Linked DNA regions of Homo sapiens: all the other regions are linked to region 4. The links are contacts of gene promoters, found by promoter capture Hi-C in blood cells and fetal thymus (Javierre and others, 2016). All regions are on one chromosome and are shown on one strand. Each heading gives the region's core, a stretch centred on a gene start or on the middle of the fragment in contact. The rest is flanking DNA. Distances are from core to core; before and after follow the strand shown.

Region 1 (2,939 bases), core at 305-2,804, 780 kb before region 4:
TATTCACTGTTTATAATGACCAAAGGGGCTTATATGATCTTCATGTGTGCCTCCATTCTCTGGGAATTTTGTCTACCTCATTCCCCCACCCAAGTCCATTCCAGGCATAGTAATTTCTTGTTTTTTTTTCTCATTATTTTTGGCAGGCTATTTCTTCAAGGCCTCTCTTCCCTCTACCTGGAAAGCTCATCTGCCAAGTGTTTGAAAGCTCACTCCCTGATATCATTTGGATATTTGTCCCCTCCAAATCTCATGTTGAAGTCTGATCCCAAATGTTGGAGGTGGGGCTTGGTGGGGGGGTGTTTGGGTCATGGGAACAAATATCTCATGAATAGCTTGGTGCTATCACCAAAGCAAAGAGTACATTCTTGCTCTATTAGTTTATGTGAGAGCTGGTTATTTAAAACAGCGCAGCCCCACTCGCTTCTCTCTCTCTCTTTCCTCCTCTCTTGCCATGTGATGCAGCTCCCCTTCCCCTTCTACCACAAGTGGAAGCTCCCTGAGACCCTCACCAGAAGGCATCATGCTTCTTGTACAGCCTGCAGAACCGTGAGCTAAATAAACTTATATAAATTACTCAGCATTAGGTATTCCTGTATAGCAACACAGATGGACTAGGCCGCTCACTACTGACTTCCTTCAGGCCTTTGCTCAGATGTCATGGGGGCAGTGAGGACAACCCTGGCCATCCTATTTAAAATTGTGACCCACCCATGCTGCTTACACAGCATCACCTATTCTTTTTACTGTTCTTCTAATTTTTGCCTTAAACTTATCTCCCTCTGACATGCTATATGTTTCCTTTATATGTTTGTTTATTGTCTTGCTTCTTCCACTAGTATGTAAACTTCAGGAAAGCAGGGGTTTTGGTCTGTGTTTCTTTCATCTATTTTCCCAATGCAGAATGGATATTTAATACACGTTGATTTGGTGAATGCTCCTGAAGAGTTTGCTATCAATATGCTAATAAATGGAGGAAATCAGACATTCCCATGAGTCATATGCAGTTGACTAGAGGAAAGCATAGTTGGCCTATTTTTCTCCAAAAAGCTAGATTGGGGAGATTAATTTATAAAAACACAGTAAGTAGAATTAGTAAATACTTTTACTACTGAAATGATTCTCCACTGGAGGCAATTTTGCCCCCAAGAGATATCTGAGTACTAAGAGATACTTGGCTTCCTAATAAACAGACTTTCAGAATTGACTTTTGAATTCAAAAGGTAGCTGGAGGACTAAGTCACTTAGTTCTTAGTCACATCAGAAGTCATTCTTGGCCAAGGGTGCTGCCACATATCCTACGATGTACGGAACAGTCAACAACAACAAAAAATCAGAACCAAAATGTCAATAGTGCTGAGGTTGAGAACCCCTGTACTGCTATGTAAATGTTAAGACTTTTCTTTCAAGTATTGAGCCTTTACTTACTTGAGAGGAAGCTTCATTATGGCACAAATGTCATAGTTACTTTCTTGGAATTGTGAGAGTGTTAAAGATAACATAAAATATTTTGCCAGTAGAGAATGAAGAAAAGTGGTTTACTTAAATTGTTCAGTGAGGCTACAATTCCTTTTATATAAAAGAATATTTTCACTACTTTTAGAATGACACAAAATAGTACTTTAAGAGTGAGAAGATATGTTGATTTTATGCAAATCTTAAAGCTTTGGGATATAAGATCAGAATGAATTACATTACCAAAAGGTTTTTATCTAGACACTCTACATAGTTTATTGATAAATTTGGTATATTTATCAGGGAAGCTTTATAACTTAAAGAAGCACTAAAATAAAAATATATCCCTACTGCAATTTCAAATCTAACTTTGAAATGTAGTAATTTGACACAAGTGCCAAGATGGAAAAAATTATTCCTCAAACTGACATAAGAAAATATTCTCCTATATCATAATGAAATAACATAACACTTTACTTTGTGTAAAGCATTCACCACTTGAAAAACATTTTGATAAATGTAAAGTTTCCTAAATGACTTGCATATTTATGTGGCTGTTCCTTCATTTGCTTCAGCTTTCAGGCCACATTTATTTACTGCCTACAATGTGCCCACTAGGAAGAAAATATCAGTAGTGCACTCGAGTATCTTCCAGTCTAGTAAGAGAGACAAGATGTACAGAGAATGGAGGTAGGAAGTGGAACTGATAAGGGGCCATTGAAGTTTAGCTGGAAGTTGCAGGATGAAGGAAGTCTGCAGAGTACATAGATTTTAGTCTGAATTTTGGGAAATGTATAGAATTTCTACAGGTAGGGGGCCTTCTTGGTAGGAGGAACAGTGGGTAGAGGTGCCCAAGTTACTCAGATGTGAATAGTAACAGTCACTATTTGCATTTAAGCGCAAGGAAAGTGAAAAGTGCTCTGTGGGAGAGAACTAACTATTTAAGTAGGGTCAGATTCCTAAATAATTTGAATGTCAAGCATCAAGGTAGAAGGAAGAAAGAAGTGACAAAGCAGCATTAAGGAAAATCCTTCAAGAACAAAAGAGATGTGAGCTGAGGCTGACATCAGAGACAACTGTGAACTTAGTGCTGACAATGGGAATGGAGGGGTGGGAAGAAATGTGAGAAACTGTGGAAGGAGAAATAGTCAGACTTGAAAATTTTTCCATAGAGGTAAGAAATCAGGGAGAAGGATCAAAGATGGCACTGATATGTCACATCTAAGTAAGTGAACGGAATGGTAGTGTCTTTAAGAGAAACCAGTATACCAGGAGTCAGTGCAGATTTGGGGAAACAGATAATATGTTTGATTCTAAACAACATGTATTGAAGACAGGACATTTCGTCCAAGGGGTGACATCAAGATTTATGTTGCAATTAGAGATCACCAGTTCAGAAGAGAAGTCAGTGCTAAAGACGCTCTTCTTGGAAATGTTTAAGTAGCTAAGAGAGTTGAGGCCATGAGGTAGACTAGTAGCCCTGG
Region 2 (2,700 bases), core at 74-2,573, 590 kb before region 4:
GCCAAAAAAAATCTGTTACAAATTTTAGAAACTATCCTTTCTTACTCCATTAAGGAGATTAAAGTTCTTTCCAAATGTGACCTAAAGGGATTCAAAATCACAAGAAAAGCTGTATCTAATTAATTCTAATATCTCCAGGGATGTCATAATAGGAGATCAAGGTAGGTCTGAATTCTTACAGAAGAAGAACTGTGAGTTAAGCACCTCCTAGTCCCTGGAACATCATCCAAGGGCCTTTCACAGCTGAGTCCAGCATTTATACAGGAGGCTCCCTCACGGGTAGACAGGAAACTTAACAAACTCTGGCAGGTGGATTGATGCATCCTACTTAAGATAAAGCTTTGACTCCTGTGGTTCTAACTTTGGTCTTAAATAACCATATGCTTTTATTTGGGATCTCAAACTCCAGCAGAATTTTGTGCAAATTATTAATTTTCCTGCCACTTGCACCTCCTATTATCAATTAAGAAATTAATAAAGTCCTAAGATCCCAAGATTGAAATCAAACCTGGGTTCAAATACTATAACTATGCTTTATCTCTAAAATCTATAAATTAGGAATAACACTTCCTCTCCAATTAAATGTCAATAACCTATTACTGTAGTGAACATCGTGTTGTGGCACTCAGCAAGCAGTCGCTGTGAATATTATTGTTGTAGCTTAAAAATATGAGCTTGGTTAATATAAATCAGTGGTTCTCAGCACTGGCTGTACATAAGTATCACCTGGGGAGTTTTTAGTAACTATCAATGCCTGAAACATATCCCAGACAAAATAAATCAGAATATTTAGGAATGAGGCTCAGGCATTGGTATTTTGGAGAAGTTTCTTGGTGGTTCTAATAATATACTAAGAAACACTGATATAAATTATTTTTTAAGCCTGATAGTTTTCAGATAAATTAACAAAGTCAAGTCACCCAAAAAGCTGAAGATCAGGCCCCAGACTCATGAAGACTTTACTGGGCAATAGAGATCTCGTGAGACCAGCAAGATCACCATTTAATGGCTGCACCCCTGTCTCTCCTTCAAAAGGTGACTTTCAAGCAAATTTGAGGTATAGTTTTCATTAACATCATTATCAAAGAAGCTTGTTGCAAAAAGATTACACTGAATCATCTGGGGTAGATAATAATTCAAAATATTCTGTTACCTTCCAGCTTCTAGATTTTGTTCAATAATTTGCTGTTAAAATTTGTTTCCTCCGTATTCTCTCTTACATATCATCTTTCCACCAATTTTCCCTAGATGTTGCAGAGAGGTTATTTTTTAGTTTCATGTAATTGCCCCAAAAGTTCCATTCTCTCCTGTTTACCAGATTGCCTATTTCATTCTGCCATGGGAAAACTTCTTTTCCTGCTCTGTTCTCAACAGTCTGCACTCCTTAAATAGCATAATCTCATCTGTTGTGCACCTGGGTGATGCAATCTGGCTCTTCTAGTAGGATCATCTTCCAAGCTAAACTAAACCCCAATGATTTGCACTCCTTTTATTAATATCTATTAGTATGAGCTTCCTTTCTCCTGCAGACCATACCTCTAAGGAGAGAAGCTTATAAAGGAGTTAACACTGAGAAGAACTTCCAAATAGTACAGTTATTTAATTCATCAACTCTTTGTGGAATATCTTTTGCTTTTCTTTAGTTTAACTTGGAGGTAGGAGAAAAAGGGGCTGGATTTATACATCATATAGCACAGTTTTCAAATCCAAGGAAAAACCCTAGACTTGTGGTTAGCTTATCACCTGTGTACATGCATGTGGTTAACACGTGTAAGTGAATGGAGGGAAACAGAGGAACTTAGCAAGTTGTCAACCTCAAATGAAAAAAGTCAATTTTTCCTCTTGATACATGTTTTTGACGTTACCAAAGCTGGAGTAATGTACCAATCACTGGAGTTAGGGTTACAGCGATTTCATATGCCATAATCACAGAAAGATGAGAAAATGAGATGTATTGGTTTTCTATTGCTGTTTAAGCCAAATTTAGTGGCTTTAACAATATATTTGTTTACAGTTACAGAAATCAGAGATCTAAAATCATGTTGTTAGCAGGTCTGCTTTCCTTTTGGAAACTTCTGGGGAAAATCCAACTTCTTGCCTTTTCTTACTCACAGAGGCCGTCCTCATTCCTTGTCTTGTGGCCCCGCATCACACTCCATCTTTCTCTCTCCTTCTATTTACGCATTCCCATTTACACCTTCTCTGCCTTAAGACCCTGCTGTTTTCATTGTGACTACATTGGGCCTACCTAGATAATTCAGAGAAATCTCCCCATCTCAAAATCTTTCATTTATTCACATCTGTAAAATCCATCTCCAGGTAAAGGAACATATTCCATTGGTTCTGGAATTAGGACGTAGACATCTTTAGAGAACCATTATTTGGTCCCCTCCATAAGTAGATGGATATCTTTCTGTATATCAGGATTTTTCTGGTGTCAAATGCTATTTTCTGTATATTCCACTATTACTTTTGTAGATGTAAGCTATAATCATTCAATGTGGCATGAATGTACTTTCTATAGCAATAAACACTGGTCTAAAGACTGTCTTATATCCATCTTGTTCTACTGATGACCACCATTAAAAATTGCATGGCCAAAGAGGCATCTGGCTCAGAGGATAGTATAGATGCAGCCTAAAATATTACAGTTAGCAAATAAAAAAGAGCTACACACTGAAGCTCAAACTTTCATCTTAA
Region 3 (2,700 bases), core at 61-2,560, 740 kb before region 4:
TTTCTTAAGGCCAGGATTTATGTAGAAAGGGCCATGGAGACAGGGCTAAGAATCTAGAAGAGTTAGACTAAAAATCTGGCTCCTTTCCTTCGTGAGAATGTACATCATTTGGGATTGATTCAGTGTGATTTTTGATATGTCTGAGTCACCTAAGTAAATTCTGTTTCTCAAAAGGTTTGCTCCCAGAAATTTTTTTTGTCTGTCAACATTTATTATTTACTTTGGATTTGGCCAGACAATATAATGTGCGTTGTTTTACATGGTTGAAATATATGGAATGGCTGGGATTCACCCATATTTCACTTTAAAGTCAACATAGGGTTTTCCCTAAATTTCCATCCTTAGAATGCAGTACACCATGTTGTCTAAGACTCCAGACTTTGGAGTTAAATGGTCCTGAGTTGAATACCTAACTGATCCCTAATAAGTTATGTAGCAAATTATTCAACAATTTTTACTCTGTCACTCATCTGCCAAATAGGAATAATCGTGCCTAACCCATAGGAATAGGGAGAGGACAAAATGAGGGAGTATGTTTAATGCGTAGCCAACTAAATATTGGGTTGGGTATGCATTAAGCGTATTTTCTCATATTGGGCACATAACAGGTTCTGTATAAATGACTCTGTATTTATTATTCAACTTTTGCTGCAGCAACAAACAACCCTTAAATACCAGCGATTTGCAAAAGCAAACATTAATTTATTGATCCCATTTCATGGTGGCTGCAGGTCTGCTGTGATTTTGCCAGGTTTGGCTTGGTCCAGTTGGTTTCCACATGACCCCTATGAATGTGTAACCATTCTCTAGGGTGCGCTGCTGGCATAGAGGAAGACAGCAGCTCGAGAAAGGGGCAATACCAAGATGACTCAGGTGTCTTCTTAGAAGCAGTGTATTGTCACTACCTGCCATTGATCAAAAAGTCACATGGCCAAGCCCAGCACTATTGAAACAGTAAAGTATGTTCTACCTCTTGCAAGGCAGTGAATGGTTAGGAACAATAATGCATTATACATACTAACAATTTACTATTATTAAGTAATGATCATGAAATCACAAAATTTTAATTTGTTTTCGCTTTTGATGGTAATGGGGATTTAAAAGACGCTGTACTTTAATCAATTTCAATATCTATAATTTTTCACTCTATAATTATTTTTTCTTTTATGAGTAGTTTTATGTACTCATGAACTTTTATTCATGCAACATCTTATAATACAGTTATTACTCTTTTGATGCACAAATTGTACCAAATCTGACCAGATAGAGTTGCTTTAAGTTGGCTCCTGTGCCCTTCCAATGTGTCCCCATTCTTCTTTGAGCATTTCTTTACTCTGGCACAAGCTGTGTCCAGATTATCATTTTTTTATTGATACGTAATAAGTGTGAATATTTGGTGGGGTACATCTGATATTTTGATGCATGCATGCAATACGTAATGATCAAATCAGCATATTTAGAATATCTATCACATCAAACTTTATTGTTTCTTTGTGTTGGTAACATTTCATATTTTCTAACTATTTTGAAATATACAGTACATTGTTGTTAACTATAGTCACCCTACTCTGCTATCAAACACTAGAACTTACTCTTTCTATTCAACTGTATGTTTGTACCCATTAATCAACCTCTCTTCATTCCACACTTCCCTTCCCAGTCTCTGGTAACTCTCATTCTACTCTCTTTGTCTATGGGATTGACTTTCTTAGCTCCCACATATAAGTGAGAACATGCAATGTTTGACTTTCTGTGCTTGGCTTATTTTACTTAACATAATGACCTCCAGTTCTATCCATGTTGCTGCAAATGACAGGATTTCATTCTTTATTTATGGCTGAATAGTATTACACTGTGTATATATACCACATTTTATTTACCCATTAATCTGTTGTTGGACACTGAGGGTTGATTCCATATCTTGGTTATTGTGAATAGTGCTGCAATAAACTAGGAAGTGCAGGTGACATGCTGATTTCCTTTCCTTTGGATAAATACCTGGTAGTGAGATTGATGGATTGTGTGGTATTTTTATTTTTAATTTGTTGAGAAATCGCTATACTGTTTTCTATAATGGTTATGCTAATTTGCATTCCCACCAACAGTGTATAAAAATTCCCCTTTCTCCTCATCCTCATCAGTATTTGCTATTTTTTGTCTTTTTGATGATAGCCATTCTAATTGCAGTAAGATGATATCTCATTGTGGTTTTGATTAGTATTTTCCTAATAATTAATTATGTTGATTATATTTTTCATATACCTGTTGGCCGTTTGTCTGTCTTCTTTTGAGAAATATCTATTCGTATCCTTTGCCCACATTTTAATGGGATTATTTTGGGCTTTTTTGGTGTTGAGTCATCTTCCTTGTGTATTCTGGATACAGTCCTTTGTCAGATGAATAGTTGGCAGGTATTTTTTCCCATCAATAGATTGTCTCTTCACTCTGTTGATTATTTCCTTTACTGTGCAGTTTTTTTGTTTAATATGGTCTCATTTGTCTACTTTTGTTTTTGTTGTCATTGCTTTTGCAATCTTAGCCATAATATTTTTGCCTAGACCAGTGTCCTGGATTGTTTCCTCTATGTTTTCTTCTAGTAGTTTTATAGTTTCATGTCTTATATTTAAGTCATTAATCTAGTCTGAATTTATTTTTGCATATGGTGTAATTTTCACTCTCTATTGACCGGTGATAGTTGTT
Region 4 (2,975 bases), core at 230-2,729:
AGAACTACCTGAGACTGGGTAATTTATAAAGAAAAGAGGTTTAATTGGCTCACAGTTCCACAGGCGGTACAGGAAGCATGGCTGGGGAAGCCTCAGGAAGCTGACAATCAAGGTGGAAGGTGAAGGGGAAGCAGACACATCCTACAAGGCTGGAGGAGGAGGAAGAGACAGAGTGGGGAGGTGCCACACACTTTTAAACAACCAGGTCTTATGAGAAGTCACTCACTATCACAAGAACAGCTGGGGATTATAATTCCACATCATATTTGGGCAGGCAATTCAAACATATCAGTGGCATTTACATTTTTGCAAAAATCCAAACCATATCAGTGGCATTTACATTTTTGCAATTTTTTTTTTTTTTTGAGACAGGGCCTCACTCTTGCCCAGGCTGGAGTGCAGTGGCATGATCTCAGCTCACTGCTGCCTCAACCTCCCAGGCTCAAGCAGATCCTCCAACCTTAGCCTCCCAAGCAGCTGAGACTACAGGTGCATGCCACCAAGCCAAAGGGATTTATATTTATCTATAAATTCATATATAAATCAGATATATTTATATAAAATGTGTATATTATATATATAAATCAGATAAATAAATATGTATTTATATCTGATCTTAAAAGAGTAAAAGGGATTTATATTCCCAGGAAGAAGTAGAAAAGAGGAATATAGATAGTGGTTAAGAACCGGCATTTTGCAATAAGTCTGATCTAGATAGGAATTCTAGCTTTAATATTTACTAGCTCTGTGATCTTGGGAAAATTATTTACAGTTTGTGAACTTCAGTTTCCCTTCTACAAAATAGAGACAGTACCATTTAATTTTTAATTTTTAATGGTATCGTCTCCATTTTATGGAAGGAAAACTAAATGGTATTTTAACCGACAATTCATTAATTTTTAAGACTGACCATTAACAGAGATACTGCATGTAAAGCAGATCACACAGAATATGGCACACTTGAGCACTTGATGTGTACTACATTACTCTTAGTGACGACTTTAATTATCGTGCGCATTCCCAGCGCTTCCTATGGTGCCCAACACAGAGCGGACGCCTAGAGACAATTTTGGGGGATGGGGCAGATGCTCTGCCTCGGGAAAAAAAAAGCACACCTGCCCTGACGTTGGTGGCTGGGTCTGGAAGATACGTGGAAATTAAGCTAAGGATGTGTGGCTTCCAGATCAAAAACCGCAAAAATCTAACGCCGTGACTACTGACTACGGTCAGAGAGCACAGACTGGAGCAACCTCTCACGGCCTGGGCTGTCTGCGCGTGCGTGAGCCAGAAACCCGAGGGGCTCCCTGGGCCCGCCCTATCGATCGACCCGATCGGGGATCGTCAGCTTGGTTCTGGCCACAGAGGTTGCTCTTCTCGCGATGCTTCAGACCTGGCGGCAGGGAAAGGGTGGGCTAATTGGAGAGCCAGGAAGAGCGTGAGGCGGCCCCACGCTGCTTTCCCAGAAGGCTGTGCGTGCTCCTCGCTTCCTCCGCGGTCTTCCGAGCGGTCGCGTGAACTGCTTCCTGCAGGCTGGCCATGGCGCTTCACGTTCCCAAGGCTCCGGGCTTTGCCCAGATGCTCAAGGAGGGAGCGAAAGTAAGGGCTGAAGGAAAGGAATGAGGTGGGAGCGTCAGCATAGGGCTGCGGCGGCCGCGGCGAAGTAGGAGGGCCTACTAACGGGCTGAGCGTGCTGCCCTGGCTCAGCGGCCGGGGGAAGAGAAGATTCCAGAAAGGGAGGTGATTTTGGAAGGGCTCGGCCACCGGAGCCTGCGGGCACTTCTCTTCTTCCGCGACCGGGAGAAGGCCGAGGGATCGGCGGCACGATCGACATTGTACACCTTGAAGGTGGACGGATGTGAAGCCGCGCGTGCGTTTTGCCTCCATCCGTAAATGGGGCTAAGGCCCGTCACCCTTAAAGGAGGTTGTGAGGGTGAAATTGAATAACGTAGATGAAATTGTCTTGAGAACTGCGACGTCGATTATCACATAGCTCGCGAGTTGTAGGATGGGGAAGAACGAGAACTAGCCGATCCAGAGAAGAGAGTGGGAAAAAGGGCCGGGTCTTGGTTGCTTGCTTCCCAGTGAGAAACATACGGCTTTCAGCTTAGTTGACAGAAGCCATGCGTTGTAGCCAAATGAGTTCCGGTCCCAACTTATGTTAGCTGGCTTAATCTAAAATGTAACTTTCTTGGGTTTTGTTTCCTTCGTCTTTAAATTATGGAGATTGGACCAAGAGGTGGTGTCTTTGAGTTCTGTGTAATCTGCAGGATAAGTGATAGAGGGGTGCAGATAACACTTTTGTTTAATGGCCTTTTCTTGAACGTTAGTTCGGTAGCATAGTTTTAAAAAATATCTTACTGCACTATTGATAAATTTGTCTCTTGTGCTATTCAAATTGCATTCCTCTGTGTGTCCTCCAGATTTTGTTAATTCAAGAAATAGATCAGTGTGGTTGAATTTAAGGTTTTATGCGAGGTACGGGGAGCATTAACAGTTTAATAGAACTAGGTTCATGTTTGTAGGATGCACTTTTCAAATAATGTCGGTATAGTAAGTAAATGTCAGGGTTCAAGGTAAATGTTGGTGGAATAATCTTTTGAAAATGATATGGGCTGATTCCCTTGAAAAAATCAGGCTGAGATAATAGCTTCCAATTTGGGTTTTTTTCACTAATACAGTTTTGGAAAACTCGTGTATCACAAAACATTATTTGTCATTCCAGTGCTAGTAGTTTTTTACAGAACACTGAGCTATTTCTTTCAATAAATAGGTACTGAAGGAACTGCAGTGAAAGACAAAAGTCCCATTTGTCGTAGAGTTTATGTCCTTCTAAGGCAGAAATAATGATTAAATAAAAGGAGAATTCCAAATAATGATGAAAGAAACTGCACTATAGTAGAGGATGACAGGAGGTAAAAATGTCTGTAAAAGAAGGATCAGGAATAGACAGAACACTTAGACGTTTAGGGAAGAAC

Evidence for each region. The method cuts DNA at HindIII sites, captures the fragments that hold promoters and counts their contacts. A CHiCAGO score of 5 or more calls a contact.
Region 1: a fragment that was not itself captured here is called in contact with the fragment with the promoter of CCT8 in region 4 in 4 of 17 cell types (naive CD4 T cells, erythroblasts, M0 macrophages and 1 more); the score reaches 6.4 in naive CD4 T cells.
Region 2: a contact is called between a fragment that was not itself captured here and the fragment with the promoter of CCT8 in region 4, in 1 of 17 cell types (M0 macrophages). The highest score is 6.0, in M0 macrophages.
Region 3: a contact is called between a fragment that was not itself captured here and the fragment with the promoter of CCT8 in region 4, in 1 of 17 cell types (monocytes). The highest score is 7.4, in monocytes.

The regions. Positions count from the first base shown.
Region 1 is chr21:29,851,700-29,854,638 of GRCh38, reverse strand. All of the region lies in intron 1 of GRIK1 (glutamate ionotropic receptor kainate type subunit 1), which reads left to right. Among named protein-coding and RNA genes, the nearest start is that of GRIK1, 87 kb to the left of the region's middle. The HindIII fragment of the contact is 225 bases long and covers 1,442-1,666 here.
Region 2 is chr21:29,660,951-29,663,650 of GRCh38, reverse strand. The region is part of intron 4 of GRIK1 (glutamate ionotropic receptor kainate type subunit 1); the gene reads left to right. Among named protein-coding and RNA genes, the nearest start is that of GRIK1-AS3, 4.9 kb to the right of the region's middle. The HindIII fragment of the contact is 461 bases long and covers 1,093-1,553 here.
Region 3 is chr21:29,815,744-29,818,443 of GRCh38, reverse strand. The region is part of intron 1 of GRIK1 (glutamate ionotropic receptor kainate type subunit 1); the gene reads left to right. Among named protein-coding and RNA genes, the nearest start is that of GRIK1-AS1, 69 kb to the right of the region's middle. The HindIII fragment of the contact is 4,266 bases long and covers 1-2,700 here.
Region 4 is chr21:29,072,152-29,075,126 of GRCh38, reverse strand. CCT8 (chaperonin containing TCP1 subunit 8) reads left to right here and starts at 1,479. Exons shown (of 15, transcript NM_006585.4): 1 at 1,479-1,596. The coding sequence starts at 1,537. RefSeq lists enhancers at 1,254-1,423, 584-1,495, 1,874-2,043, 1,496-2,407. The HindIII fragment of the contact is 10,437 bases long and covers 1-2,975 here.